Linked DNA regions of Homo sapiens: regions 2, 3, 4, 5 and 6 are each linked to region 1. Evidence: promoter capture Hi-C in 16 types of primary human blood cells and fetal thymus (Javierre and others, 2016). All regions are on one chromosome and are shown on one strand. The core of a region is centred on a gene start or on the middle of the fragment in contact, and the rest is flanking DNA. Distances in the headings are between cores, read along the strand shown.

Region 1 (3,209 bases), core at 1-2,500:
TTCTTGCCCTTGCTTCTCTGTGGAAATTGATGGAAACAGTTTCGCCTCCTACACAGGTATACTGTAGGTAAAATCAGAACAACACAAATCCTCCCATCCACTCCCAAGCCCCCCACCCCACTGAGGAAAACTGGTGGGGACTGGCTAGTCTCAGGCAGAAACAGAAGGAAACAGCTGCGACAGAGGCTCCCTCTTGGGAAAATAAAACACAGAGCTCTTTGTCCTTCTCAGATAGCAGCTCTGTATTTTACAGACGTTGGGAGGGAGACATTTTTCTCATTTCTCCCCTTTCTAGATTGCAGGGTAATCAGGATAATGGGTACAGGGTAATGGCAATTCTAATTCTGTTTTGTTGTTTTGTTTTGTTTTGTTTTGTTTTTGTTTTGATACAATGTCTTCCTGTGTTGTCCAGGCTGGAGGGCAGTGGCGCCATCACAGGCTCAGGCGATTTTTGCCTCAGCCTCCGGAGAAGCTGGAACCACAGGTGCGCGCCACCAGGCCCGGTTAATTTATTAATATTAGTATTATATTATTATTATTATTATTATTCATAGCGATAGGGTCTCCCTACATTGCCCAGGCTGGTCTCGAAATCCTGGGCTCAAGTAATCCTCCCACTTGGCCTTTCAAAGTGCTGAAGCTACAGGCATGAGCCACCACACCCGGCCTAATTCTGCTTTTTAACTCTTAGATTAAGAACAATAATTTACAGTGGTTAGTGAGTCAATGCCAAGAACCCTGAAACAAGAGTCCCAACCTTCGCAACGGGGGAAGCCTCCAGGACGCACTTGGCTCTGCCTGTTTGTTCCGCCCCCGCGGAAACCGCTGCTCGCTGGGCAGGGGCTTTCTGTTTTGCAGCCGGAACAGGAACACAGATAGCCCGCCAAGCCGCCGGCGACACCTTCCAACCCCTTTAGCTCTCCGCACCGTCCCTCCCCACCGCCCCGCCTCCACCCGCGCCGCGATCAAGTCCTCATAGCCTTTTAGGGAATTTGCTCAGCAAACTAGCCGAACCCCAAAGGCAGGGGAGAAGCACGCAAATACCCCGACTCCACCGGCTGGCCGGAGCTGGGGGGCGGGGGTTGCTCTCCTAGCTTGCTCCCCATCCGAGTCAACGCCAGTCCAGGGTCGTGCCGGACTAGACCCTAGGGCGTGGGTACAAACGGGAGCTCCGCAGTCCCCGTAGGAGCAGGGACCCTCTCTTACCTCTCAAGCTCCAGCGCGTCAAGCTCCAGGACACTCCGCGTTTCCCTGGAGGCGCCAAGGTCAGGTTCTTATAACCAATGGTTGGCGCCTACCTGGGCAGGTCCCACACAGGGGATGAACGAACCAATGGGTCCCAGGCAGGGCATGGACGCGCCAATGGGAGTGTCTACAAAGCCCGGGAACACTTTGCCACGCTGTCTAGAAGGCCTGGCGGGAGGCTCGCGCCTATGAAATCCCAGCACTTTGGGAGGCCTAAGCGGGTTCATCGCTTGAGCCAAGAAGTTCGAGACCAGCCTGGACAGCACAGTGGGACCCCCGTCTGTACAACAACAACAACAACAACAACAACAACAAAATTACTCAGGCTTAGTGGCGCGCGCCTGTAGACTCAAATGTAGTCTCAGATGCCCGGGAGGCTGAGGCTGGAGGATCACTTGAGCCCGAGGAAGTCCAGGGTAAAGTGAGTCGAGATCGCACCACTGCACTCCAGCTTGGGCGACAGAGTGAGAGCCTGTTCCCCCTACAAAAAAAAAAAAAAATGTCTGGAAACGCCAAGTTTTCTGATTGCTTTCGAGTGGTTCTTAGTTCTTTCTTACTCCCCCTCCGCCCCTCCTCCGTCCCTATCTCTCTCTCCTTTCCCGGAGCCTGCGGTCCCGCCTTCCCCGGACCCCTCCTCTGAGGGTCCAGCCAAGCTCTCGCCCGAGCTTTCCCCTTCCACCGCACTGCAACTGCCCATACCCCAGCTTGGGCTTCTCTCCCCACTGCCTGCCCCAGAAAGTGGGCCTTGAGACCCGGGAACCCCAGGTCAAAATGCGACGGATGCTCGGATCGGGCGGCACTCGGTTCCTGGCTGGATTTGTGGCTCCGCAGACCCCGCGCCAGAGTGGGATGTGGCGGCGGCCGGTGCTCTGTGCTCAGTCAACGCCTTGGAGAGGAGGACTACGAAACCCATACACTCGGACAGAACCCTGGCAGGTGTTAAAGGCTGCGGCAGAGCAGAAAAGCAGAACCCTGGCTGGTTTTCTTGTAACACGAGCAGTGTGACGGTTACCGGGGTTGACCAAGCACCGCGCATCGGCCAAGTTCTCACTGACGCGGACTGGCCCAAGGGTGGGAGCGGCGGTTAACACCGGGGTGATTAATATACGCTCCAGTGGAGGCTAAAGTGAGAAAATAAAACGTACTCCAATACCACCCCCCCTTCGCCCCAGAGATTACCACTGACCACTATTAACACCCTATTGTACATATCTTTACGGATCATACATATATATTACACAAACATATATGTAATACTTTTTTATTAATACAAAGTCACACTGTATGTACTCTTCTTAATCTGCTTTTTTCAATGACTTCCACCTTTCCATTTCAGTAAATCTTCATATAATCATATTCCAGTTTTTTCATTTTTCTTTAAAATGCGGTTTATAGATTGTGCAAACCTGTACTGAATCCAGAACTATACATCTGTAAAGCGCTGGAAAAAAAAAAAAGGCTGTCAATCTAGAATTCTATAACCACCAAAAACAAAACAAAACAAGTCCTCCAAAATGGAGGCAAAATAACGACGTATTCAGACCAAAAAAAAAAAAAAAATCTTAGGAAATTTGTCACCAGCAGATCTTTACAAAAACTATTAACGTGTTTTTTTGTTTTTTGTTTGTTTGTTTGTTTGTTTCTCAGATGGAGTCTCGCTCTTGTTGCCCAGGCTGGAGTGCAATGGCGCGATCTCAGCTCACTGCAACCTCCGCCTCCCAGGTTCAAGCGATTCTCCTTCCTCAGCCTCCCGAGTAGCTAGGATTACAGGCGCCCGCTACCAGGCCCTGCTAATTTTTGCATTTTTAGTAGAGACGGGGGATTCACCATGTTGGCCAGGCTGATCTCAAACTCCTGACCTCAGGTGATCCACCCGCCTCGACCTCCCAAAGTGCTAGGATTACAGGCATGAGCCACTGCGCCCGGCCTAACAAAGTTCTTCATATTGAAGGAAAATGATACCA
Region 2 (5,006 bases), core at 1,735-4,234, 240 kb before region 1:
TTGGATAATGGGACAGATCCCTTATGAATAGGTTAGTGTTATCTTTGCAATAATGAGTCAGTTCTCACTCTTAGTTTTTACAAGAGCTGATTTTTTAAAATTTTGTTTATAAATTCACTTTTCTTTTTTTTAAGACAGTGTCTCATTCTGTTGCCGAGGCTGGAGTGCAGTGGCATGAGCATAACTCACTGCAGTCTTGACCTCCTGGGCTCAAGCAATCCTCCCACCTCAGTCTCCCATGTAGTTTGGACCACAGGCACACACCACCGTGACTGGTTAATTTTTTGATTTTTTGTAGAGATGGAGTCTCACTTTTTTGCCCAGGCTGGTTGGTCTTAATTAAATTCTTGGGCTGAAGTGATCCTCCCATCTTGTGCTCCCAAAGTGCTGGGATTACAGGCATGAGCCACTGTGCTCATCCATGAGCTGATTGTTGAAAAGATCCTGGCCCCTCCTGCCCCTCTCTCTTGCTTCCACTCTCTCACCATGTAATCTGCACATTCTGGCTCCCCTTCATCTTCCACCATGTGTGGAAGCTTCCTGAGGCCCTTACCAGAAGCTTGTACAGCCTGCAGAAACATAAGCCAAATAAACCTCATTGCTTTATAAATTACCTGGGCTCAGGTATTTTGTTGAGCAACACAAACAGACTAAAACAGTAGAAATCCTTGTCTTGTTGCAGATCTTACACGAAGGGCCTTGAGTGTAATGTTAGCTGTGGGCTTCTCATAAATGACTTTTATTGTGCTGAGTTACATTTCTTTTTAAAAAATTTGCACTCAGGGTTATCCTCAAAGAGATATATGCTTTCTACATCTAATTTGGTGAACTTTTTTTTTGTCATCTTTCTCTCTCTCTCTTGCTCTCTCTTGCTCTGACTCTCTGCCTAGGGAATGGAAGATAAGAGAGAGTTTTTATCATAAAAGGATATTAAATTTTATTGAATGATTTTTGGCATCTAATAAATGATTATATGGTTTTTGTCTTTCATTCTGTTACTGTGGCATGTCACATTTATTGATCCTTGCATTCCAGTGATAAAAACATTTCTCAAAAGAAGACATGCAAATAGCCAACAGATAATGAAAAAATGCTCAGCATCACTAATCATTAGAGAAATGCAAATTAAAACCACAATGAGATATAATCTTTCACCTGTCAGAATGCTTATTATTATGTTTTTAATCATCCTGTACTTTATTTCAAAACAGAGTGTTTTCAAATGAAAAAACAAAAGATAAGTGTTGGTGAGGATGTAGAGCAAAGGAAACATTTGTACACTGTTGGTGGAAATGTAAATCGGTGCAGCCATTATGGAAAACAGTATGGAGATCCCTCCGCCCAAAAAATAAAAAAAAACCAAACTAAAAATAGAATTATCATATGATTTAGAAGTCCCTCTTCAGGGTATTAATGCAAAAGACTCAAAATCAGTTTGTTGAAGGGATATCTGCACTCCTATGTTCATTGCAATACTATGCACAACATCCAAGTAATGGAATCAACCTCTGCCCATCAACAGACAAATGGATTTTAAAAAAATGTAGTGCATATATACAATGGAATACTATTCAGCCTTTAAAAAGAAGGAAATTCTGGCTGGGTACAATGGCTCACACCTGTAAGTCCAACACTTTTGGTGGGTGGAGCACTTGAGGTCAGGAGTTTGAGACCAGCCTGAACAACACGGTGAAACCCTGTCTCTACTAAAAATACAAAAATTAGCTGGGTGTGGTGGCATATGCCTGCAATCCCAGCTACTTGGGAGGCTGAGGCAGGGGAATGGCTTGAACCTGGGAGGCAGAGGTTTCGGTGAACAGAGATCACGCCACTGCACTCCAGCCCGGGTGACGGAGTGAGTGAGACTCCATCTCAAAAGAGAGAGAGAGAGAGAGAAGGAAATTCTGAAATTTGTGACAGCATTGATGGAATTGAAGAACATTATGCTAAGTGAAATAAGTCAGGCCCAGAAAGACAAATACCACATGTTCTCCGTTATATGTGGAATTTAAAACAATGAACTTATAGAAGTGGAGAGTAGAATGGTGGTGACAGAAGCTGGAAGATGGGGAAATGGGGAGGTGATGGTCAAAGGGTATTTCAGACAGGCAGAACATGATTTTTCTTTTTGTGCATTCTATTGCACAGCATGGTGAATATAGTTAATAGTAGAGTGTTGTACGTTTCAAAATTGCTAAGTAAATTTCAAATGTTCTTGCCACAAAAAAAGTTAAGTATTTGAGGTGATGGAAATGTTAACTAGTTTGATTTAATTATTTCACATTGCATTCATAAATCGTAACATCATTTTGTACCCCATAAATTTTTTCCCCACGCAACTCCCTCTTCACAGAACCCATCAATCTATACAATTATAAATTGTCAATTTACAATAAAAAAAGAAGAAAAAAAGAAAAGCATAAAATTGAAAACTTAGAAATAAAACTTTTTAATTGTTCACATGACAGGATTGTACATGTAAAAAATCTGACAGCTACAAACTATTAGAACCAATAAGTGAATTTAGATACAAAGTCCATTTACAAAAATCAATTGTGTTTCTACATACCTATAACAGTTAGGAAGTTGAGTTTTTAAAGATGGTGCCATTATAATATCATAAAACATCAATGCCTAGAGATAAATTGTGAAAGATGTTTAAGAATCCTAACTATAAAATATTATTTACAAAAATAAAAGAAAACTCATATAAATAGAGAGATATTACCAAATTCCTGGATTGGATGACAACATTATAAAGCTATAAATTCTCCCCAAAGTGATATATAGATTCCATGAAAGCCCAATACAACTTTGAGGCTTTTGGTGGGACAGAGATTGATAAATTATTTGTAAAATATTTATGAAAAGCCAAAGAGTCAAGAATAGCAATGACCATCTTGGAGGAGAATAAAGTTTGGCCAGGCATGGTGGCTCACGCTTGTAATCCCAACACTTTGGGAGGCTGAGGCAGGAGGTATTGCCTGAGGCCAGGAGTTCGAGACCAGCCTGAGAAACGTAGTGAATCTCCATTTCCACAATTTTTTTTTAATTAAAAAGAAAAGAAAACAAGAATAAGTTGGAAGACTAACAGTGAGTATCAATATAAGGTCATAGTTATTAAGATGGTGTGATGTCAGCAAAAGAATAGGAAAATAGACCAATGAAACAGAAGAGAGAATTCAGAAATAGACCGACACATATAGGTACACTTGACTTATGACGAAGATCACACTACAGAACAGAGGGGAAGGGGTGCACTTTTCAACAAATGATATTGGGTCAACTAGCTATCCATATGGAAAAAAATTAAACTTAACCCCTCCCCCACAACACACTCAAACATCAGGTGGATTAGAGATCTAAATGTGAAAAGTAAAACCAGAAATATTCTTATGACATAGGGCTAGAGAGTTTAAAAAAATAAAAAGGAAATATTCTAGAAGATAACACTAGAGACTATCTTCATGAGTTGGAGTAGGCAGGTATTTCTTAAATGAGACATAGAAACACTAACCATAAACAAAAATGTTGATAAATTGGACAACTTTATTAAATAGGAGCTTCAATTCATGAGAAGACACTATTAAGACTTCAATTCATGAGAAGACACTATTAAGACAGTAATAAAGTCAGCCACAGAGTGGAAAAAGATTGCTAAACATTTAATCAATAAAGAACTTGTCCTAGCCTGGTCAACAAATTGAGACTCCATCTCTACAAAAAATAAAAAAATTAGCCAGGCACGGTGGCATGTGCCTGTGTTTCCCAGCTACACAGGAGGCTGAGGCAGGAAAATTGCTTGATTTCAGGAGGTTGAGACTGCAGTGAGCCAGATTTGCACCACTGTGCTCCAGCCTGGGCAACAAAGGGAGATCCTGTCTCAAAAAAAAAAAAAAAAGAAAAGAAAAGCAAACTACTTGTACAGACAGACACCTTATAAAAGGAGCCAATAAATATATGAAACTCAGTCATCTTACTAGTCATCAGGGAAATGCAAAATAAAATTATAATGAGATGTCACCATAGACCTATCAGAATGGCTAATATTAAAACCACACTGCATCCATCAACTGATGAGTGGATAAAGAAAATGTGCTGTGTATATACACGCACACACATACACACACAAATACACACCATGGAATACTATGCAGCCATAAAAAGAGGAAAATAATGTATTTTGCAGCAACTTGCATAGAACCAGAGGTCATTATCCTAAGCGAAGTAACTCAGGAACAGAAAATCAAATACTGCATGTTCTTACTTGTAAGTGGGAGCTAAGCTATGGGTACGCAAAGGTATGTAGATTGGTATAATGGACACTGAAGCCTCAGAAGGTGGGAAAGTTGAGAGGGGAATGTGGAATTTAAAAATCACCTACTGAGTACAATGTACACTATTCAGGTGATGGTCGCACTAAAAGCCCAGACATTATTATCATATAATTCATCCATGTAGCCAAAAACCACTTGTACCCCTATCGAATTTTTTTTTAAAGCAAATTAAGCCAGGTGTGGTGGCTCATGCCAGTAATCCCAGCAGTTTGGGAGGCCAAGGCAGGAGGATTGCTTGAGGCCAGTAGTTTGAGACCAGGCTGGGCAACATGGCAAGACCCCCGTCTCTACAAAGAGTACTTTAAAAATGTTAGCTGGGTGTGGTGGCACATGTCTGTAGTCCCAGCTACTTGGGAGTTGGGGGCTGAGGTGGGAGGATTGCTTGAGTCCTAGAGGTCGAGGCTGTAGTTAGTGAGCCATGATGGTGACACTGCACTCCAGCCTGGGTGACAGAGGAAGACCCTGTCTGAAAAAATAAGCAAATTAAAAAAAAATTAAAACACTGACAAAACCAAGTGTTGGTGAGAATATGGGATAACTGGAACTCTTATACACTGCAGATGGGAATGTGTGAATTGCTACGAAAACTTAGGAAGATGTATTTGGCAGTATCCCCTAAAAGTGCTTGACATAAAATTGAACATATACATAGCCAGCAACTCCAAGGTA
Region 3 (5,006 bases), core at 1,437-3,936, 220 kb before region 1:
ATGGGGTCTTGCTATGTTGCCCAGGCTGGTCCTGAACTCCTGGCCTCAAGTGATCCCTCCCTCTTTGGCCTTCGAAAGCGTTGAGATTACAAATATGAGCCACCACGTCCAGCCACACACTTGATAAAATTAATAATCTTTTTTTATTGTAATCTAATACCAAGTCACAACTTCCTGATTGTCACAAGTTTTTTCTTCTTTCTTTCTTCCTTTCTTTTTTAAAAACATTTTGTTTGTTTAAATCAGACTCCTTCTTTTAAGGTGAATTCATATTTTAAAAATCAGCTACCAAAAATGGCTCACACATTGCATTTAGTTGATAGGTAATTTAAGTCTCTTTTAACTTATAACATTAGCCCTCTGCCTTTCCTCCTCAGTTATTTGTGGAAAAATCCAATTCACTTATCCCGTTGAATCTCTCACATTCATGAGTCAGCTAATTACTTCTTCATGGTGCCATTTAACTTCTTCTATGCCTGTGTTTCATCTAAACTGGAAAATTAGACCCAAGGACTGACTACATGTAGGTTCAATTATGTGTGTAAGGGGTTGAGGGGTAAGAGAGAAGCCTTTTGCTAGAACACCTCCTAGGTAGGGCTGTGTATTAGACATTGTGCTAATTTACACAGTGTCTGGCTGTCCCACTCATACCAACGTTAGAATCGGTGTGTAGGTTGAAGTGTTTTCAGTTTGATCCATCTGTTCTAAACTTCCCCATGCACCCTTCTTCAGTCTGATCTGTCTGTTATAAACTTCCCCATGCATCTTTCATCTAGTGAGTGATCCTCAATCTTGGCTGCACACTGGAATCACCTGGGGAGCATTACAATCGCCCCAGACGTTCTGATTCACTTGGTCTGGAGTGCAGCCTACACACTGAGGCTTGTAACAGCTCTTGGGGGCAGGTGAGGTTGAAAACCACCATCCTGGTAGTTTCAGCATCAGTTGACGATTGTTACCTAGATCCATGATTTCATTAGGTCTTGCAAAATGATGATTTTTCTAACTCCATAATTCCATCTGAATTTATTACCGGGAATATTTCTGTGAAGGACTTTCCTTACCATCTCTTTCTTGGCCCCAAAATAGAATGCATACAGGAAAGGAGTACAAAGGCTTGATTGCTTCCCTTCATCAGTTTTCAAAACAATGCGCTGATGTCCTAGCGTGAATTTATGAAGGTTAACCATGAAGTTTTTAAAAACAAGTATCATTGTGAACTCATGGGTTTTAATATATGAAAGTCAATTTGAAATTATAGAGGAAATGGGTAACTCCCATTTCCAGTTGAATATGCCAGTTGAAAACTAAAAATTTTTATTATAGAATCAAGATTATAATTTGAGACTCACATGAAGATAGAAATGATCTTTACATTTGTATTCTTCAAAACAAATAATTATTAAAATGAAATTCAAACCATAAAGACCAGATTTAGTCTCATGTCAGTTAAGCATCTTGCGCCTCCATGACACTTGGGGAAATTTTGTTACCAGTGGAGCTACTGAGTACCCTGTGGGTGTGTGAAGCAAGGGCCTTGCCACCAGCTGGTTAGCTCAGGGTCTAAGGGACACTCGTTCTTGGGCAGCGTGGAGTTCCATACCAATTAGGGTGCTGTGTGCCTTGTCACTTCCACATACAGGGGATGAAATGAGCACTTAATTCCTGGGTGGGTTTCTTCATCCCCAATTAATGGGAACTTTTCAGGCAACTGTTTAAGGTTCAATTACACTGAATGAAGGACGGGGCGGAATGAAGTTAATGTTTATTGAGCACATACTATATGCCAGGTATTTCGTATATACCATGACATATACTCCTCAAAGGAGCCCTAGAAGGCTTAATATTTTAATTTTTGTTTTACAGACAAATTCATACTGAAAGTTATAAATTTATTTCCTGCATTACTTTACAAAACTTACATTGAATTTTAACCCTTTTCTCAACTCATAATTATAATTCCTTTCTACTTATTACTTGGTGAGCCATGTGATTATTTCTCTAACTGAAAAGCTTGATTCTTAATATTGCTAGTGGAAGTACTTATCAGTGAATACAAAATTAGTAAAAAATTGATAAAGTTGATATTAACCATAAAACATTTGGATGACAAATATAAGTAGCAAATATCATGTTTTATAATCCATTTTAACATAAGACTATTCTGCTTCTTTCTTATATTATTTTTTGAAATTTTGAAGTTATTTGAAGTTCTGAGTAGGCCTTTATTTGAAAGACTACTTTTTGTTTCTCTTTGAGTGCTAATTATTGAAATTCCAGTATTTAGCCTGGAAACTCTAAACTCTTCTACTTCTGGTGAAAGAAAACTCAGCAAGACAAGCAAGCAAGCAAGCAAGAAACAACAGACAGTTTCCTTTTTCTTGCACCTGCAGAGAATGAGATGCTTTTCCATGTCACCAAACTGTATTTGCCATTAGCTCCTATCAAATTAGTTTGATACGACACTCAGATTTATGAGTTATTGTATTTTGGGAAAGTAACTTCCAAAAAAGTCGAATTTTGCTTGGTTGTTTATGTAATGATTTTTTTGCTCAGGTAATAATATTTAAATTGACATAGCCTCCTTTTTAAAATAAAGGTATAAATATTTGTGTATTTCTTTCTATTTCTTTCTTTCTTTTTTTTTTTGAGATGGAGTCTCGCTCTGTTGCCCAGGCTGGAGTGCAGTGGTGTGATCTCGGCTCACTGCAACTTCTGCCTCCGGGATTCAAGCAATTCTCCTTGCCTCAGCCTCCCGAGTAGCTGGGATTACAGGTGCCCACCACCACGGCTGGCTAATTTTTGTATTTTTTAGTAGAGATGAGGTTTCACCATGTTGGTCAGGCTGGTCTTGAACTCTTGACCTCAGGTGATCCGCCCACCTCAGCCTCCCAAAGTGCTGAGATTATAGGCGTGAGCCACTGTGCCCGGCCATGCATTTATTAACCCAGAAGATGACAGTTGATATTTCCCATTTGTTAATATGCATGGAAATAAAACCTACAAATGTGAGAACATGAAATAAATGATTCAAGAAAACTGAGAAGGACGATATTAGGGTTTAAACTGTGCTCTCCCAAAAGATATGTTGAATCCTAACACTTAGTACCCCAGAATGTGACCTTACTTAGAAATAGGGTCACTGTAGGCCGGGCGCGTAGCTCACGCCTGTAATCCCAGCACTTTGGGAGGCCGAGGAAGGCAGATCACGAGGTCGGGAGATCGAGACCATCATGGCTAACACGGTGAAACCCTGTCTCTACGAAAAATACAAAAAATTAGCCGGGCGTGGTGGCAGGCACCTGTAGTCCCAGCTACTTGGGAGGCTGAGGCAGGAGAATGGCGTGAACCTGGGAGGCAAAGCTTGCAGTGAGCCTAGATCACGCCACTGCACTCCAGCCTGGGTGACAGAGCAAGACTCCATCTCAAAAAAAAAAAAAAAGGAAAATAAAAGAAACAGGGTTACTGTAGAAGTAATTAGTTAAGATGAGGTCACATTGGAGTAGAGTAAGCTCTTAATCCAATATGACTCATGTCTTTATAAGAAGGGAGATGGTGTGAAGAGAGACACACACAGGGAGAAGGCCACATAGTGATGGTGGCAGAGATCGGAGTGACACAGCTGCAAGCCAAGGAACATGGAGGATTGATGGCCACCACTGGGCAGAGGTAAGAGAGGATTCTACTGAGAGTCTCAGGGAGAAGAGCCCTACTGACAACTTGATTTCAGACTTCTAGCTTCCAGAACAAAGAAAATAAATTTCTGCTGTTTTAGGCCACCGATTTTATGGTATGTTGTTATGGTAGGCTTAGGAAATGAATACAGGTGGTAACTCCAATTGAAGCCTAAATCTGAATAAGTAAAAATAGCGATGCTGGGGTGGGGAGGTAGGAGGGTTACCTGTCACTGCTGTCTAGTGCTGGCCAGCTTTGAACTCTGTTGCTAAATAATTAGTTTTGCTTAAAATCAGGGTCACTGGAAAATTAAAACATTGATTTTTGTTTTTGTCTGTTGTCTTATGGCTTTTGACAGATGTCACTTTGTCCTGGGTCCATAGGATAGGTGGAAGCTGCTCTCACTTAATTTTTTTTTCTTTTTTTTTGAGACAGGGTCTCACTCTGTCACCCAGGCTGGAGTACAGTGGCAGAATCTCGGCTCCCTACAACCTCCGCCTCTCAGGTTCAAGTGATTCTGTCACCTCGGCCTCCCAAGTAGCTGGGACCACAGGTGCACACTACTATGCCTGGCTAAATTTTTGTGGAGACAGGGTTTTGCCATGTTGCCCAGGCTGGTCTTGAACTCTTGGCCTCAAGCAATCTGCCTGCCTCGACCTCCAAAGTACTGGGATTACAGGTGTGAGCCGCTGTGCCCAGACCCTGCTCTCACTTAAATTAGAGATAGAACTATTGCAATTCTGTCTTCTGAAATAAAGCTTTCTAAGCTTGAGAGTGGATCAAGTTAGATTTTTATTGTGGTAAGAGATGAGCAAACTTTCTTTCTTTGTAAGGCTTGAGCCTGTTAAAGTACAATAGAAATTAGAATGTGAAGATTCTTAAACCGGCCCCAAAAGAGGCTTCAACCTTTTTGATTGAAACAATGTATGTCTAGAGTCTATGTGTTCCTGGAGGATTCATATGAACATATGAAGGGTGACAAGGGAAAGAAGCACCTTTCAAATTAGATGAGATAATACACCTTCAGATGTAATAGAAAGTAAAGCCCATATAGTTCCTTAAACTGTATAGATCTCCTATTTTCAGTAGCTTCAAGAGGCTATCAAGTACATAATAATCTAACATAAGAAAGCTCAAAACCCTCCCAGAAAAAAAGGAAGGAAATCTAGCCAAAATTTTATTTTCTTCTTATTATTTTTTGAGATGGGGTCTTACTCTGTCACCCAGGCTGGAGTGCAGTGGCATGATCACAGCTCACTGCAGTCTCGACCTCCCAGGCTCAAGCGATCCTCCCACTTCAGCCTCCTGAGTAGCTGAGACTACAAGTGCCC
Region 4 (5,006 bases), core at 1,128-3,627, 190 kb before region 1:
GCTCCAGTCCACAAATATCAATGTAAAATTTTCTATTTTCTGCAGGTGACCTGCGAGACTCTGCCACTTTGAGAACTTGGCAGATAGTTACTAAATACACAGCATAAATATAACCTGTTGGTCATTTCTGTGGTGGTGGTGTGCTTCCAGCAGACTCAGCTCCTCAACTCACCTTACAAGCTTAATTCATGTATAAATCTGACCTCAAGCTATGTGGGAATTTCATTCATCCATTTTCACACTGCTGTTAAAGACATACCTGAGACTAATTTATAAAGAAAAAGAGGTTTAATGGACTCACAGTTCCACATGGCTGGGGAGTCCTGACAATCACGGTGGACGGTGAAAGGCACGTCTTACATGGAGGCAGGCAAGATAGAAATGAAAGCCAAGTGAAAGGGGAAACCCTTTATGAAACCATCAGACCTCGTGAGACTTATTCACTACCATGAGAACAAAATGGGGGAAACTGCCCCCCATGACTCAATTATCTCCCACCGGCTTCCTCCTACAACATGTGGGAATTATGGGAGCTACAATTCAAGATGAGATTTGGGTGGGGACACAGTCAAATCATATCAGGAATAAATGAAGGGACCAACCTCAGTAGGATGGCCTTAATCTGTTGGTTTTCCTGCCTCTCCTATTCTTGTCCTGTTCTAATGGTTCTATCTTTCTGTTTTTCAGGAGAACATTTCAGGATAGGAATAGGCCAAGTGCTGAGAAGATGAGTCTTAGGATTGATGTGGATACAAACTTTCCTGAGTGTGTTGTAGATGCAGGAAAAGTCACCCTTGGGACTCAGCAGAGGCAGGAGATGGACCCTCGCCTGCGGGAGAAACAGAATGAAATCATCCTGCGAGCAGTATGTGCTCTGCTGAATTCTGGTGGGGGCATAATCAAGGCTGAGATTGAGAACAAAGGCTACAATTATGAACGTCATGGAGTAGGATTGGATGTGCCTCCAATTTTCAGAAGCCATTTAGATAAGATGCAGAAGGAAAACCACTTTTTGATTTTTGTGAAATCATGGAACACAGAGGCTGGTGTGCCACTTGCTACCTTATGCTCCAATTTGTACCACAGAGAGAGAACATCCACCGATGTCATGGATTCTCAGGAAGCTCTGGCATTCCTCAAATGCAGGACTCAGACTCCAACGAATATTAATGTTTCCAATTCATTAGGTCCACAGGCAGCTCAGGGTAGTGTACAATATGAAGGTAACATAAATGTGTCAGCTGCTGCTTTATTTGATAGAAAGCGGCTTCAGTATCTGGAAAAACTCAACCTTCCTGAGTCCACACATGTTGAATTTGTAATGTTCTCGACAGACGTGTCACACTGTGTTAAAGACAGACTTCCGAAGTGTGTTTCTGCATTTGCAAATACTGAAGGAGGATATGTATTTTTTGGTGTGCATGATGAGACTTGTCAAGTGATTGGATGTGAAAAAGAGAAAATAGACCTTACGAGCTTGAGGGCTTCTATTGATGGCTGTATTAAGAAGCTACCTGTCCATCATTTCTGCACACAGAGGCCTGAGATAAAATATGTCCTTAACTTCCTTGAAGTGCATGATAAGGGGGCCCTCCGTGGATATGTCTGTGCAATCAAGGTGGAGAAATTCTGCTGTGCGGTGTTTGCCAAAGTGCCTAGTTCCTGGCAGGTGAAGGACAACCGTGTGAGACAATTGCCCACAAGAGAATGGACTGCTTGGATGATGGAAGCTGACCCAGGTTAGGGAGCAATATCCACAATGGTTGTAATGTTTGCTGGCAGCAAGGCAGGGCGGGTCAGAGAGGAAAGAGGGATATGGTATTCCTTGGAATCTGGGGAAAGAGATTTACTCTCTGATTTGCAATTGTCTGACTTATTAATCCCTGTAGATGTAGTTCGTGGATTATTGCCCTTCCTTTCTTCTGCCATCTTAAATAGTCTTCATTCAACAGATGCCCTGGCTAGTAGCCCCATTAAAGGCTGGTGCAGGGGGCTGTTTGACCTAGTTATTTCAATTTTCACATCCTTTCTTATGTTCATAGTCAAGCCTCTTATTTTTCAATTATGAGCTTGCATTTAATTATTTAGGAAATTTCTTTTTTTCACATGTACAGATGTGTCCACTTTAATTTACTGCCACTTTCCTCTGACTTTCCCTTCTTAAATATTCACCCTTTCTCACTGCCCACTTCCATTTTTTGAACCAAAATATGACCAAATCACGGCTTTCGCTCTGCTTTCCCATTTTTCCTTTGGGGAGCCGGTACGTGATAAGCCAGAGGATGGTTGGTGACATGCATCTATCCTGGAAAAGGAAAGCCTGAGATAAAATTAGACAGAGAAAACCAATAGTAACTTCTTCAAAGGTCCAGAAAAAACAAAGTCCACCTCAGAATCTGCTCAGGTGTCTATATCCATTGGCCTTTGCATCTTCTCATCATTTTTCTTTAAAAAGTAGCATTCTAAAAATATAAAAACAGTCTGGGCACGGTGGCTCATGCCTGTAACTCCAGCACTTTGGGAGGCCGAGGGGGGCAGATCACCTGAGGTCAGGAGTTTGAGACCAGCCTGGCCAACATGGTGAAACTCCGTCTCTACCAAAAATACAAAAAATTAGCTGGATGTGGTGACGCACGCCTGTAATCCCAGCTGCTCAGGAGGATTGCTTGAACCTGAGAGACGGAGGTTGCAGTGAGGTGAGATCATGCCACTGCACTCCAGCCTGGGCAACAGAGTGAGACTGTTTCAATAAATAAATAAATAAATAATAGAAATAAAAATAGTTTTGTTTTGACATAATAAAATTAAAAAGTGTTGCTTTATGCTAGGTTATTTTTTCCTTCAAAAACCTCAGTAGGCTTTCCTGAGCTGACCTGAGATGTAAAGGCAAGTATCTGTGGGCCGTGGCTTGAGTTGTAAGACTAGGTGAAAGACTTTGTAGCACAGCTCAGCTATAAGTTGGGGTCTGCCTTTTTGCATATTGAATCCTTGGTTCTTGTTTCCTAAGACCTTTCCAGGTGTCCTGAGATGGTTCTCCAGTTGAGTTTGTCATCTGCCACGCCCCGCAGCAAGCCTGTGTGCATTCATAAGAATTCGGAATGTCTGAAAGAGCAGCAGAAACGCTACTTTCCAGGTAATTGGCCATCTCTGGTTGCTTTGGAATATGTTGATTGTTCATTCATATAAAAAATTGACTCCTACTTTATATTATATACAGAATCAATTCCAGAGGTTTAAGGACTTAAATATGAAAGCCAAACCTTTAAAACTTTTAGTAGAAAGTGTATATGAATAATTGTATCATTGGGGTAGGAAAGCATTTCCTAAACCAGACACAAAAGGATCAAACTTAAAAAGACTGATAAATTTTACTACATTAAAATTAAGAACTGTTCCTCAAAATATACCTTAAAGAAAGTGAAAAGACTGGGCACAGTGGCTCATACCTGTAATCCCAGCACTTTGGGAGGGTGAGGTGTGGAATTGCTTAAGTCCAGGAATTTGAGACCAGCCTGGGCAACATAGCAAGACCCCATCTCTACAAAGTAGCAGCACTCTACTATGCCAGGCTAATTTTTTAACTTTTGTAGAGATGGAGTCTCCCTGTGTTGCCCAGGTTGGTTTCAAGCTCCTGGACTCAAGCGATCCTTCCACCTGAGCTTCCCAAAGTGCTGGGATTACAGGCATGAGCCACCACGCCAAGCCACCAGTCTTTTTTTTTTTTTTTTTGAGATGAAGTTTCGCTCTTGTTGCCCAGGCTGGAGTGCAACGGTGAAACTTTGGCTCATTGCAACCTTCACCTCCCGGGTTCAAGCAGTTCTTCTGCCTCAGCCTCTCAGGTAGCTGGAATTAGAGGCGCATGCCACCACACCCAGCTAATTTTTTTTGCATTTTCAGTAGAGACAGGGTTTCACCATGTTGGCCAGGCTGGTCTTAAACTTCTGACGTCAGGTAATACACCCACCTCGGCCTCCCAAAGTGCTGGGATTACAGGCATGAGCCACTGCGCCCAGCCCAATCATTTTTTTGATGGACTTTTATATGACGTCTAATTTTTTCATTTTTAAACAATGCTATAATATACATTTTACCATAATATACCTGAGGTGTTCTTTAAGGATAAATTCCAAGTAGTGGCCAGGCACAGTGGCTCAGGCCTGTAATCCCAGAGCTTTGGGAGGCCAATGCAGGCGGATCACAAGGTCAAGAGATCGAGACCATCCTGGCTAACACAGTGAAACCCTGTCTCTACTAAAAATACAAAAAATTAGCTGGGTGTGGTGGCATGCGCCTGTGGTCCCAGCTCCTCGGGAGGCTGAGACAGGAGAATCGCTTGAACCCTGGAGGCGGAGGTTGCAGTGAGCCAAGATGGCACCACTGCACTCCAGCCTGGGCGACAGAGGGAGACTCCATCTCAAAAAAAAAAAAAAAAGAAAAGGAAAAGAAAAAAAAATTCCAAGTAGTAATAATTACTTGTAACTTTAGATGGATATTGCCAGATTGTAAGCTAAAACATATACCCAAATACACTTTGACCAACCAACATGGTATTATCACGGCATTTCTCTTCTGGAAGAAGCTTAGAATCATTTTATCCTATCAAAAAGAAAAAAAGATGGCCGGGTGAGGTGGCTCACACCTGTAATCCTGGCACTTTAGGAGACCGAGGTGGGAGGATCACTTGAGCCCAGGAGTTCAAGACCAGCCTAGGCAACATGGTGAAACTCTGTCTCTACAAAGAAATACAAAAATTAGCTGCATGTGGTGGCATGCACTTGTAGTCCCAGCTACCTAGAAAGCTGAGGTGGGAGAATCACCTGAGCTCAGGAAGTAGAGGCTGCAGTGAGCCATGATCATACCATTGTACCCCAGTTTAGGTGACAGAGCAAGACCCCGTCCCCCCCAAAAAAAAGTCTCCATGCTGTCCCTTTTTAGTCAAACTCTCCCCAAATCCCTAACCTCTAGCATCCATTGATCTGTTGCCTGTACCTATAGTTGTGCTTTAC
Region 5 (5,006 bases), core at 924-3,423, 170 kb before region 1:
CAGGAAGGGGAACATCACACACCAGGGCCTGTTGTACGGTGGGGGGAGGGGGGAGGGAGAGCATTAGGAGATATACCTAATGTTAAATGACAAGTTAATGGGTGCAGCACACCAACATGGCACACGTATACATATGTAACAAACCTGCACGTTATGCACATGTACCCTAAAACTTAAAGTATATATAAAAAAAAGAGTTAGATCTCAACATAGTCCAGATGCAGAAATAAAGGCCTGTTCTTGAAGAGGGAGCTTGTACACAAAAATGTTCCAGATCTCATTTGTGTGTATTGGCAGGACCTGGGAGGCAAGTATGGGAATGCATACTAAAGATGTAGATGAAGGAGAATGAAATAAAGGCTTGATCTAGCTGAAAGCATTGACGCTCAATAGGGATTGAATGTGTTGGCTTGGGAGTAGTTGATACTCTGCTAGATTTGGCCAACTGATTTTGGCTTGCTGATGCCTTGACTCAATGTTGGTCTACAGTTAATGAGTTTGAGATTCCCTGACTTACGTGGCATTTGGTAGAAACTTGCTGCTCAAAATGTGTCATGTGGAGTTGCTGTAGCAGCATCACTGGGAGCTATTTAAAAATGTAGAATCTCGGGCCCCATCCTAGACCTTCTGAATCAGAATTTTAGCAATATTTCCATGTGCTTCATATGCACATTATATGTTACAGTTTGAGAGGCATTGTTCTAGAAGGAGCTCAAAGACTCAGGGATGTGAGAATATTGAAATGGAGCTACTATGTGCAACACGCTTCGACACTACCCCCCTAGCCAGAATCCCCGAGCAAGCCCAGGGGATGCACCTATCACCAAGGAATTAAGACATGCATTGGAGAGGAAGGTACTAGCAGTGCTGGAGTGAGGGGGGAGGCAAGAAGACACCCAGGATACAACATTTAACCGGGCACCCACCCTCCGGTACTGATCCTGAATGCATGAGCCTGAAAGTGAATGCCTCCTTTAATATCTTGTGCCAGGGTGCTTCACTAGCCGTGGGCACTGGTAACCTTGTGAAGCTTTTTGGTGGCTGTTCTCTATAGGCCAGAAATGACAGTGGGGTATGCAGCACTGGAACTGGCTTCCCTTATCTAAACGGAAGTAGTGGAATCCTGCAGTGGTAGAAGCCAGGTTGCAGTCGTTATTGAACAGCCGAGACAAGATGGACATATTATCCCAATAAACCGTAGGATTGGAGTGGTAATCTGAGTGTTTTGACCAGGAGGGATCCATAGTGATGATCATGGCATCCTTACAAATTAAATAGATGGGCAGTCTACTAAAATGTGGCTTGACATACATAGGCAGAAAAATCCCAGATATACTGGGCATAACCCTATCTTTAGTTGTCATGGTGGGGAATCAAAACCCCTTATCCAGTTTCCAAATATAAACTAATCCAAAATCCTACAACTCTTTGGGAAAGAGACCTTTGAGAAAAATCCTGTTACATGGCTGCAGACACATTCTATGACTCTTCCCTCAGTCCTTCATCAGAGGGACCTGCAGACATTTAATAGGGTGACTCTGTACTGGGGAAATGGAACTATCGAGGGATTCCTAGATTCTGGCTCTGAATGATTCTGGCTCTGATTCTGGCAGAGACTGAAGTGCCACATTGGTCCAGCAGGCAGAGGGAGGGCCCAAGGAGCCAGATAATCACTGGTCCTTTGGTTATTTCTCGAGTCTGGACAACGTATAGTAGACATAGGATTGGAAACTGCCAGAATTCCCACATCAGTTTCCAGATCCAAAAAGTGAGAGTTATTATGTTAGGAAGGGCCAAGTAGAAGCCCCTAGAATTGTACTCTTCACCCACATCAAAATAGCAATCTTGGCCGGGCGTGGTGTCTCATGTAACCCTAACATTTTGAGAGGCTGAGGTGGGCAGATTGTCTGAGCTCAGGAGTTTGCGACTAGCCTGGGCAATGTGGCAATAATCCCATCTCTACTAAAACACACAAAAACTTAGACGGGCATGGTGGTGCATGCCTGTAGTCTATTGCTTGAACCTGGGAGGCAGAGGCTGCAGTAAGCCGAGATGGCACCACTGTACTCCAGCCAGGGAAACAGAGCCAGACTCTGTTTCAAAAAAAATAGCAATCACACATTCCTGAGGGGAGTTTCAGAGATTAATCCTACCGTCAACAACCTAATAGGTGCGGAAGTAGTGATTCCTATCACATCCTCACTTGACCCATCTCTTTGACTGGTGAAAAAGCAGATGGACATGGAGAACGCCAGTGATTTTCACAAACAGGCTGTGATGCCAATATCACCTGCTCTTCTGGGTTGCAGTATCTTTACTGGAGCAAGTTAATACAGTCCCTGGCACCTGGTTTGCAGCTATTGCTGGCTTCTCTGCTCCCCCACACAATTTCTACAAGACAAGGAAATGAGAAGCAGTTTGATCTAAGTGGTGGGGCAAGAGGATAGTTTGCCATCTTGCTTCATGACTACCTCAATTCAAATGCATGCTGTCATGATGTAATCAGGACAACTCTTGATTATTTTGCTATCCCATAGGGATGACATAATGCTAATTGGACCTGATGAGGAAGTATATCAAGTGTGCCTTGGATACATGCCTGCCAGAGGGTAGGTGACAAACTTCACAGGTTCCAGAGCCTGTCACATCAGTGGTGTTTCTGGAGTTTGGTACCTTGGGACAGGTTGAAACAACATCTCTAAAAGAAAGAATAACCTACGAAGCTCCATGCTTGCTTGGTTTATCTGGATTTTGGACAGGCTAATCCATTTTCTGCCAAGCAGTAAGACTGCTAGAGAAGGAAAGTTCTCTCTAGCAGGTCCAAGTTGTGGTGTACATGTCCCACTATTTGCACACAATGACCCAGCAGACCTAATGATAGTGGGAGACTCTGCAGAAGTCAGAGATCTACCAAAATCCCCAATAACAGAATCCCTAGAGTTTTGGAGGAAGGCTATGCCCTCTTCTGCCAACAAGTACTGTCCATATGAAATCAGTATCTCACTTCCCGTGGGACCCTGTTGAGACTGAATATCTGACAAATATCTGTGTGACCTGAGCTCTTATCAAATCCAAAGGGGTCATCTCTTCCACTAAATCATACACAGCAGAATTCATCATAAAATGGAACTCATATATGTAAGACTGGGGCCTCATAGGTCTGCAAGAAATTAATAAGCTGTAACAGCAGGTGGCTCAGACTTGCATAGGATCAATGTCCACTGCTTCACTGCCTTTCTCTCCACTTACAGCAATGACCTCTTGGGGCACATGACCAGCTAAAGGAGGACAAAAAGGTGTGGGCTTGGTTTGCAAATGAAGCTTCATGATCCATAGGTCTCAACAAGAGTGGATGGCTTTTACTCTCCAGCTCCACTCAGGGATAACACTGCAAGACAATGATGAAGGGAAGTCATCTAAGTGGGTATACACGTTTGTGTATTTTGGGTGAAATGATAGCCATCACCACGGACTTAGAAACCACAGGAGAATGAAAGTTTAAGTAACCCCACCCAGTAAAGAATCCCATCCAACTGAGGTGGGCAGGCAGAACTTAGAGAGGGTTGTGGGAGAAGGCTGCTATAACTACCAACCGAGGCCTTGTGACTAGCTTCAGAAGTAGGTACAAATACAGATAGGTTTTATTTTACCAAAAGAAAAACTTTAGACAAGTTAAGTTTAGCAGAGTTTACTTGAGCAAAGAACAATTCATGAATTAGGCAGCATCCAGAACCAGGAGACGTCCAGAGAGCACTCCCTAGCAACATGGGCAGGCAGTATTTATAGAAAGAAAAGGGTAGTGACATACAGAAACAGCTTGATTGGTTGCAGCTTGGCATTTACCTTCTGTGGACATGGTCTGATCACTTGGCAGCCTGTGATTGGCTGAAGTTTGGCTGCTGTGTATGGGATTGGATGGGACTTGGCTATTCGTTACAAGACTATACTCTTAAGTTATGTTGCAGTTTGTTTACTTACTACATTAGGTTACAGTTTGCTATGTATGGAGGCAGCTTTAGGCCAAATTTAGTTTAATATAAAATTGCTAATTATTGATGTTTCTTTCTCCTCTTTCCCCTGTGGCCTTATAAAAAGAAGATTGGCCATGGCTAACATTTTTGGTTTCAAACGAACATTTGACTGAATTGATACCATGGTAGCTTAACACACTTTATTGTGTTGGGGACATTAACTCTTCACCCAGAGGAATGATAAGATTGGGGTAGGAGGGGAATGGGGGAGTTGGCATGCTGGACATCCTCCATTTATTCCTTTGGCATCTATTCTCCATCCTTCTCCAGCCTGCTCTGGGCTGCAAGAGGCTGCCTGGATAATATCGGTAGGGCTCCCTTGCCATCTGAATTTTGGTTGCTTGGTCAATGGGGACAATGGCTGAAGATGAGAGGGAGGGAGGAGAGTGAGGTGAGACTATTTTTTTTCTTCTGGTTCTCCTCTTGCGAGTAATGCACGCTGGCTGTGTCCCACAACTAAAGTTCCTATGATGCAGCCTCTTGACAGGTCTTTTGATCTCCTGGTTCCAGTAACAACTTCTTCCCCTCAACAGAGCTGCCTGCCCCTCATCAATAGCCCCAAACTATACATTATCTCCTGTGGCCTCCCTCTTCTCTGTCCACACCTTTGTAAATAGTCCCTTTTGAACTCGTCTCTAATTATGCCTTTGAATGTACCTTGTGTTTGTTAAAGGAAAACTAGACGAATTAAATTTAACAGAATTTAATTGAGAAAAGAAGGACTTGTGAAGAGATTCAGAGAGCTCTGAGCCTAAATGTGGGCAGGCAGCATTTATAGACAGAAAACAGAAGTGAGGTATAGAAACAGCTTGCTTGGTTACAGCATGGTGTTTGCCTTATTTGGACATAGTCTGATCAGTTGGCAGCCTGTGATTGGCTGCTGTGATTGGCTGAGACTCAGCTAGTCGCTACAAAAAAGATAATAAAACTCCTAAGTTAGGCTTTCAGTTTGTTTGCATAGTAAGTTTGGTGCTT
Region 6 (5,006 bases), core at 1,746-4,245, 140 kb before region 1:
CCCTCTCTCCCCTCTTCCTCCCCTGAAACTAAAAGGAATGTTAAAAGCCCATTTTTCTGTGACCAGCAGACCTTAGCTATGCCCCCAATTCCAATTCCTTGTAAACACAATTTGTAAAATCCTGTGAGATCCTGTCTCCTTTGCCATGCCACTGCAAGGTTATAAAGTCGATAAAACTTAAGTTACAATTCCGGTTTTTCTCAAGATCCGAGACATGTTAATTGTCTTTGTTTCTCGCTCTGGTAACATCTTCCCTCTGCATGTATTTCTCACCTTAAAGACTCTAAGAGGTGATCAAAAAATCTAACACTGGCTACCCGCTCGGGACTCCTTCCATGCTGTAGAAGCTTTGTACTGTCACTCTGCTTAATAAAGCCTATAGCTTTTTTTCTCTCAGTCCAATCCTTGTCTCTCTCTCACCACGAGCTGCCGCCACACCAAATCTTTGGCGTGGCTAAGGCAAGAACCTTTGGCATTACAAATCTAGGAGCTGGTTTTTTGAAAAGATTAACAAAATAGATAGATGGCTAGCCAGACTAATAAAGAAGAAAAGAGAGAAGAATCAAATAGACACAATAAAAAATGATAAAGGGGATATCACCACCGATCCCACAGAAATGCAAACTACCATCAGAGAATACTATAAACACCTCTGTGCAAATAAACTAGAAAATCTAGAAGAAATGGGTAAATTCCTGGACACATATGCCCTCTGAAGACTAAACCAGGAAGAAGTTGAATCCCTGAATAGACCAATAACAAGTTCTGAAATTGAGGCAGTAATTAATAGCCTACCAACCACTAAAAGCCCAGGACTAGACAGATTCACAGCTGAATTCTACCAGAGGTACAAAGAGGAGTTGGTACCATTTCTTCTAAAAGTATTCCAAACAATAGAAAAAGAAGGAATCCTCCCTAACTCATTTTATGAGGTCAGCATCATCCTGATACCAAAACCTGACAGAGACACAACAAAAAAAGAAAATTTCAGGCCAATATCCCAGATGAACATCGATGCTAAAATCCTCAATAAAATACTGGCAAACAGAATCCAGCAGCACATCAAAAAGCTTATCCACCACGATCTTGTCAGCTTCATCCCTCAGATGCAAGGCTAGTTCAATAAACACAAATCAATAATCATAATTCATCACATAAACAGAACCAATGACAAAAAACACATGATTATCTCCATAAATGCAGAAAAGGTCTTCAATAAAATTCAACACCCCTTCATGCTAAAAACTCTCAATAAACTAGGACTGATAAAACATATCTCAAAATAATAAGAGCTATTTATCACAAACCCACAGCCAATATCATACTGAATGGGCAAAAACTGGAAGAATTCCCTTTGAAAACCAGCACAAGAAAAAGATGCCCTGTCTCACTACTCCTATTCAACATAGTATTGGAAGTCTGGCCAGGACAATCAGGCAAGAAAAAGAAATAAAGCATATTCAAATAGGAAGAGAGGAAGTCAAACTCTCTCTGTTTGCAGATGACATGATTGTATATTTAGAAAACCCCATGGTCTCAACCCTAAATCTCCTTAAGCTGATAAACAATTTCAGCAAAGTCTCAGGATACAAAATCAATGTGCAAAGATCACAAACATTCCTATACACTAATAATAGACAAACAGAGAGCCAAATCATATGAACTCCCATTCACAATCACTACAACAAGAATAAAATACCTAAGAATACAACTTACAAGGGATGTGAAGGACCTCTTCAATGAGAACTACAAACCACTGCTCAAGGAAATGAGAGGACACAAACAAATGGAAAAACATTCCATGCTCATGGATAGGAAGATTCAATATCATAAAAATAGCCATACTGCCCAAAGTAATTCATAGATTCAATGCTATCCCCATCAAGCTACCATTGACTTTCCTCATAGAATTAGAAAAAACTACTTTAAATTTCATATTGAACCAAAAGAGAGCCCATATAGCTAAGACAATCCTAAGCAAAAAGAACAAAGCTGGAGGCATCACACTACCTGACTTCAAACTACACTATAAAGGTACAGTAATGAAAACAGCATTGTACTGGTGACAAAACAGATATATAGACAAATGAAACAGAACAGATGCCTCAGAAATAACGTTACACATCTACATCCATCTGATCTTTGACCAACCTGATAAAACAAGCAATGGGGAAATGATTCCCTCTTTAATAACTGGTGTTGGGAAAACTGGCTAGCCATATGCAGAAACCTGAATCTGCACTCCTTCCTTACACCTTATGCAAAAATTAACTCAAGATGGATTAAAGACTTAAATATAAAACCTAAAACCATAAAAACCCTAGAAGAAAACCTAGGCAATACCATTCAGGACATAGGCATGGGCAAAGACTTCATGACTAAAACACCAAAAGCAATGGCAACAAAAGCGAAAATTGACAAATGAGATCTAATTAAACTAAAGAGCTTCTGCACAGCAAGAGAAATTATTGTCAGAGTAACAGGCAACCTACAGAATGGGAGAAAATTTTTGCAATCTATCCGTCTGACAAAGGGTTGATATACAGACTCTACAAGGAACTGAAACAAATGTACAAGAAAAAAAAACCCATCAAAAAATGGGCGAAAGATATGAACAGACACTTCTCAAAAGAAGACATTTATGTAGCCAACAAATGTATGAAAAAAAAGCTCAGCACTGGGCATTAGAGAAATGCAAATCAAAACCACAATGAGATACCATCTCATGCTGGTTAGAATGGCAATCATTAAAAAGCCAGGAAACAACAGATGCTGGAGAGGATGTGGAGAAATAGGAGCGCTTTTACACTGTTGGTGGGAGCATAAATTAGTTCAACCATTGTGGAGGACAGTGTGGCGATTCCTCAAGGATCTAGAACCAGAAATACCATTTGACCCAGCAATCCCATTACTGGGTATATACCCAAAGGATTATAAATCATTCTACTATAAAGACACATGCACTCGTATGTTTATTGCAGCATTATTCACAATAGCAAAGACCTGGAACCAACCCAAATGCCCATCAATGATAGATTGGATAAAGAAAATGTGGCACATATACACCATGGAATACTATGCAGCCATAAAAAATGAAGAGTTCATGTCCTTTGTAGGGACATGGATGAAGCTGGAAACCATCATTCTCAGCAAACTAACACAAGAACAGAAAACCAAACACCACATGTTCTCACTCATAGTGGAAGCTGAACAATGAAAACACATGGACACAGGGAGGGGAACATCACACACCAGGGCCTGTCAGGGGGTGGGGGCATAGGGGAGGGATAGCATTAGTAGAAGTACCTAATGTAGGTGATGGGTTGATGGGTGCAGCAAACCACCATGGCACATGTATACCTATGTAACAAAACTCCACATTCTGCACATGTATCCCAGAACTTAAAGTATAATAAAATAAATAAATATATAATAAATAAATAAATAAATAAAAAGCAAGACTCAATGATCTGTTGCCTATAAGAAACATGTTTCACCCATACAGATACACATAGGCCGAAAATAAAGGGATGGAAAAAGATATTCTATGCTAATGGAAACCAAAAAAGAGCAGGAGTAGCTATACTTGTGTCAGACAAAATAGATTACAAGACAAAACTTTTGGCCAGGTGCAGTGGCTCATGTTTATAATTCCAGAACTTTCAGAGGCCTAGATGGGCAGATTGCTTGAGCCCAGGAGTTTGAGACCAGCCTGGGCAACATGGCAAAACCTCATCTCTATTTAAAATAGAAAAACCACTCAGGTATGGTGGTGCATGCCTGTAGTCCCAGCTAGTCAGGAGGCTGAGGTGGGAGGATCACTTGAGCCTGAGAAACAGAGGTTTCAGTGAGCCAAGATCACACCGGTGCACTCCAGCCTGGGTGAAAGAGCAAGACCCTGTCTCAAAAAAAATTAACTTTTTGTTGTTTTTATTCATCTTATTGTACTGACTATGTCTTGAAAAGTTGGTTTTTACTATATTTGTTTATCATTTAATCTTTCTATTTAAGATAAGAGTAGTTTACACGGCACAGTTACAGTGCTATACTATTCTGTGTTTTTCTGTGTACTTTCTATTGCCAATGAGATTTGTACCTTCAGATTATTTTTTCTCATTCATTAATGTCTTTATTTCTGATTGAAGTACTGCCTTTCACATCTCTTGTAGGACTGGTCTGGCGTTTATGAAATCCCTGTTTCTGTATGTCTCGGAAAGTCTTATTTCTCCTTCATGTTTGAAGGATTTTTCACCTGATATACTATTCTAGGGTGGGTGTTTTTTTCCTTCAGCACTTTAAATATGTCATGCCAGCTCTCTCCTGGCCTGTAAGGTTGAAATGTCTGCTGCCACACTTATTGGGATTCCATTGCATATTATTTTTTTCTTTTCTTTTGCTGCTTTTGGGAGCTTTTCTTTAACCTTGAGCTTTGGAAATTTGATTATTACGTGCCTTGAAGTAGTCTTCTTTAGGTTAAATCTGCTTTGTGTTCTATAACCTTCTTGTAATTGGATATTGATTTCTTTCTCTGGGTTTGGGATGTTCTCTGTTATTATCCCTTTGAATAAACTTTTTACCCCTATCTCTTTCTCTAGCTCCTCTTTGTCCAATTTCCACTCTGTGCCTTTTAAGTGGAACATTTAGACCATTTACATTCAACGTTAATATTTATATGTGAGGTTTTTAATCCTGTTGTGATGTTGTTAGCTGGTTTCTTTGTAGTCCCGATTTGTGTAGTTGCTTTATAAGGTCTGTGAACTATGTATAATACTTAAGTGTGCTTTTGTGGTAGCAGGCATCATTCTTTCATTTCCATATTTAAAACTCTCTTAGGATATCTCGTAATGCTAGTCTAGTGGTAAAAAATAAGGTCCTTTAACAATTGCTTGCCTGGAAAATATTTTATTTCTTCTTTGTTTATGAAGCTTAGTTTGGGAAGACATCAAATTCCTGGTTGGACTTCCTTTTATTTGAGAATACTGAAAATAAGTACTCAATCTCTTCTC

The links. The method cuts DNA at HindIII sites, captures the fragments that hold promoters and counts their contacts. A CHiCAGO score of 5 or more calls a contact.
Region 2: a contact is called between a fragment that was not itself captured here and the fragment with the promoter of SLFN13 in region 1, in 5 of 17 cell types (non-activated CD4 T cells, activated CD4 T cells, naive CD4 T cells and 2 more). The highest score is 5.7, in non-activated CD4 T cells.
Region 3: a fragment that was not itself captured here is called in contact with the fragment with the promoter of SLFN13 in region 1 in 3 of 17 cell types (naive CD8 T cells, total CD8 T cells and activated CD4 T cells); the score reaches 6.9 in naive CD8 T cells.
Region 4: a contact is called between a fragment that was not itself captured here and the fragment with the promoter of SLFN13 in region 1, in 5 of 17 cell types (total CD8 T cells, total CD4 T cells, activated CD4 T cells and 2 more). The highest score is 10.3, in total CD8 T cells.
Region 5: a contact is called between a fragment that was not itself captured here and the fragment with the promoter of SLFN13 in region 1, in 5 of 17 cell types (non-activated CD4 T cells, naive CD8 T cells, naive CD4 T cells and 2 more). The highest score is 8.3, in non-activated CD4 T cells.
Region 6: a contact is called between a fragment that was not itself captured here and the fragment with the promoter of SLFN13 in region 1, in 9 of 17 cell types (total CD4 T cells, activated CD4 T cells, total CD8 T cells and 6 more). The highest score is 7.9, in total CD4 T cells.

What each region holds. Positions count from the first base shown.
Region 1 is chr17:35,447,516-35,450,724 of GRCh38, forward strand. It overlaps SLFN13 (schlafen family member 13), which reads right to left and starts at 1,251. Exons shown (of 6, transcript NM_144682.6): 1 at 1,207-1,251. RefSeq lists enhancers at 527-686, 1,565-2,066, 1,957-2,166, 2,067-2,566 and a silencer at 1,257-1,336. The HindIII fragment of the contact is 16,320 bases long and covers 1-3,209 here.
Region 2 is chr17:35,205,575-35,210,580 of GRCh38, forward strand. No RefSeq gene overlaps it. Among named protein-coding and RNA genes, the nearest start is that of SLC35G3, 14 kb to the left of the region's middle. The HindIII fragment of the contact is 4,854 bases long and covers 558-5,006 here.
Region 3 is chr17:35,224,199-35,229,204 of GRCh38, forward strand. No RefSeq gene overlaps it. Among named protein-coding and RNA genes, the nearest start is that of SLFN5, 16 kb to the right of the region's middle. The HindIII fragment of the contact is 1,350 bases long and covers 2,012-3,361 here.
Region 4 is chr17:35,257,964-35,262,969 of GRCh38, forward strand. It overlaps SLFN5 (schlafen family member 5), which reads left to right. Exons shown (of 5, transcript NM_144975.4): 2 at 688-1,739; 3 at 3,008-3,133. The coding sequence starts at 728. Among named protein-coding and RNA genes, the nearest start is that of SLFN5, 17 kb to the left of the region's middle. The HindIII fragment of the contact is 4,399 bases long and covers 179-4,577 here.
Region 5 is chr17:35,281,449-35,286,454 of GRCh38, forward strand. No RefSeq gene overlaps it. Among named protein-coding and RNA genes, the nearest start is that of SLFN5, 41 kb to the left of the region's middle. The HindIII fragment of the contact is 2,291 bases long and covers 1,029-3,319 here.
Region 6 is chr17:35,306,917-35,311,922 of GRCh38, forward strand. No RefSeq gene overlaps it. Among named protein-coding and RNA genes, the nearest start is that of SLFN11, 64 kb to the right of the region's middle. RefSeq lists an enhancer at 4,771-5,006. The HindIII fragment of the contact is 3,855 bases long and covers 1,069-4,923 here.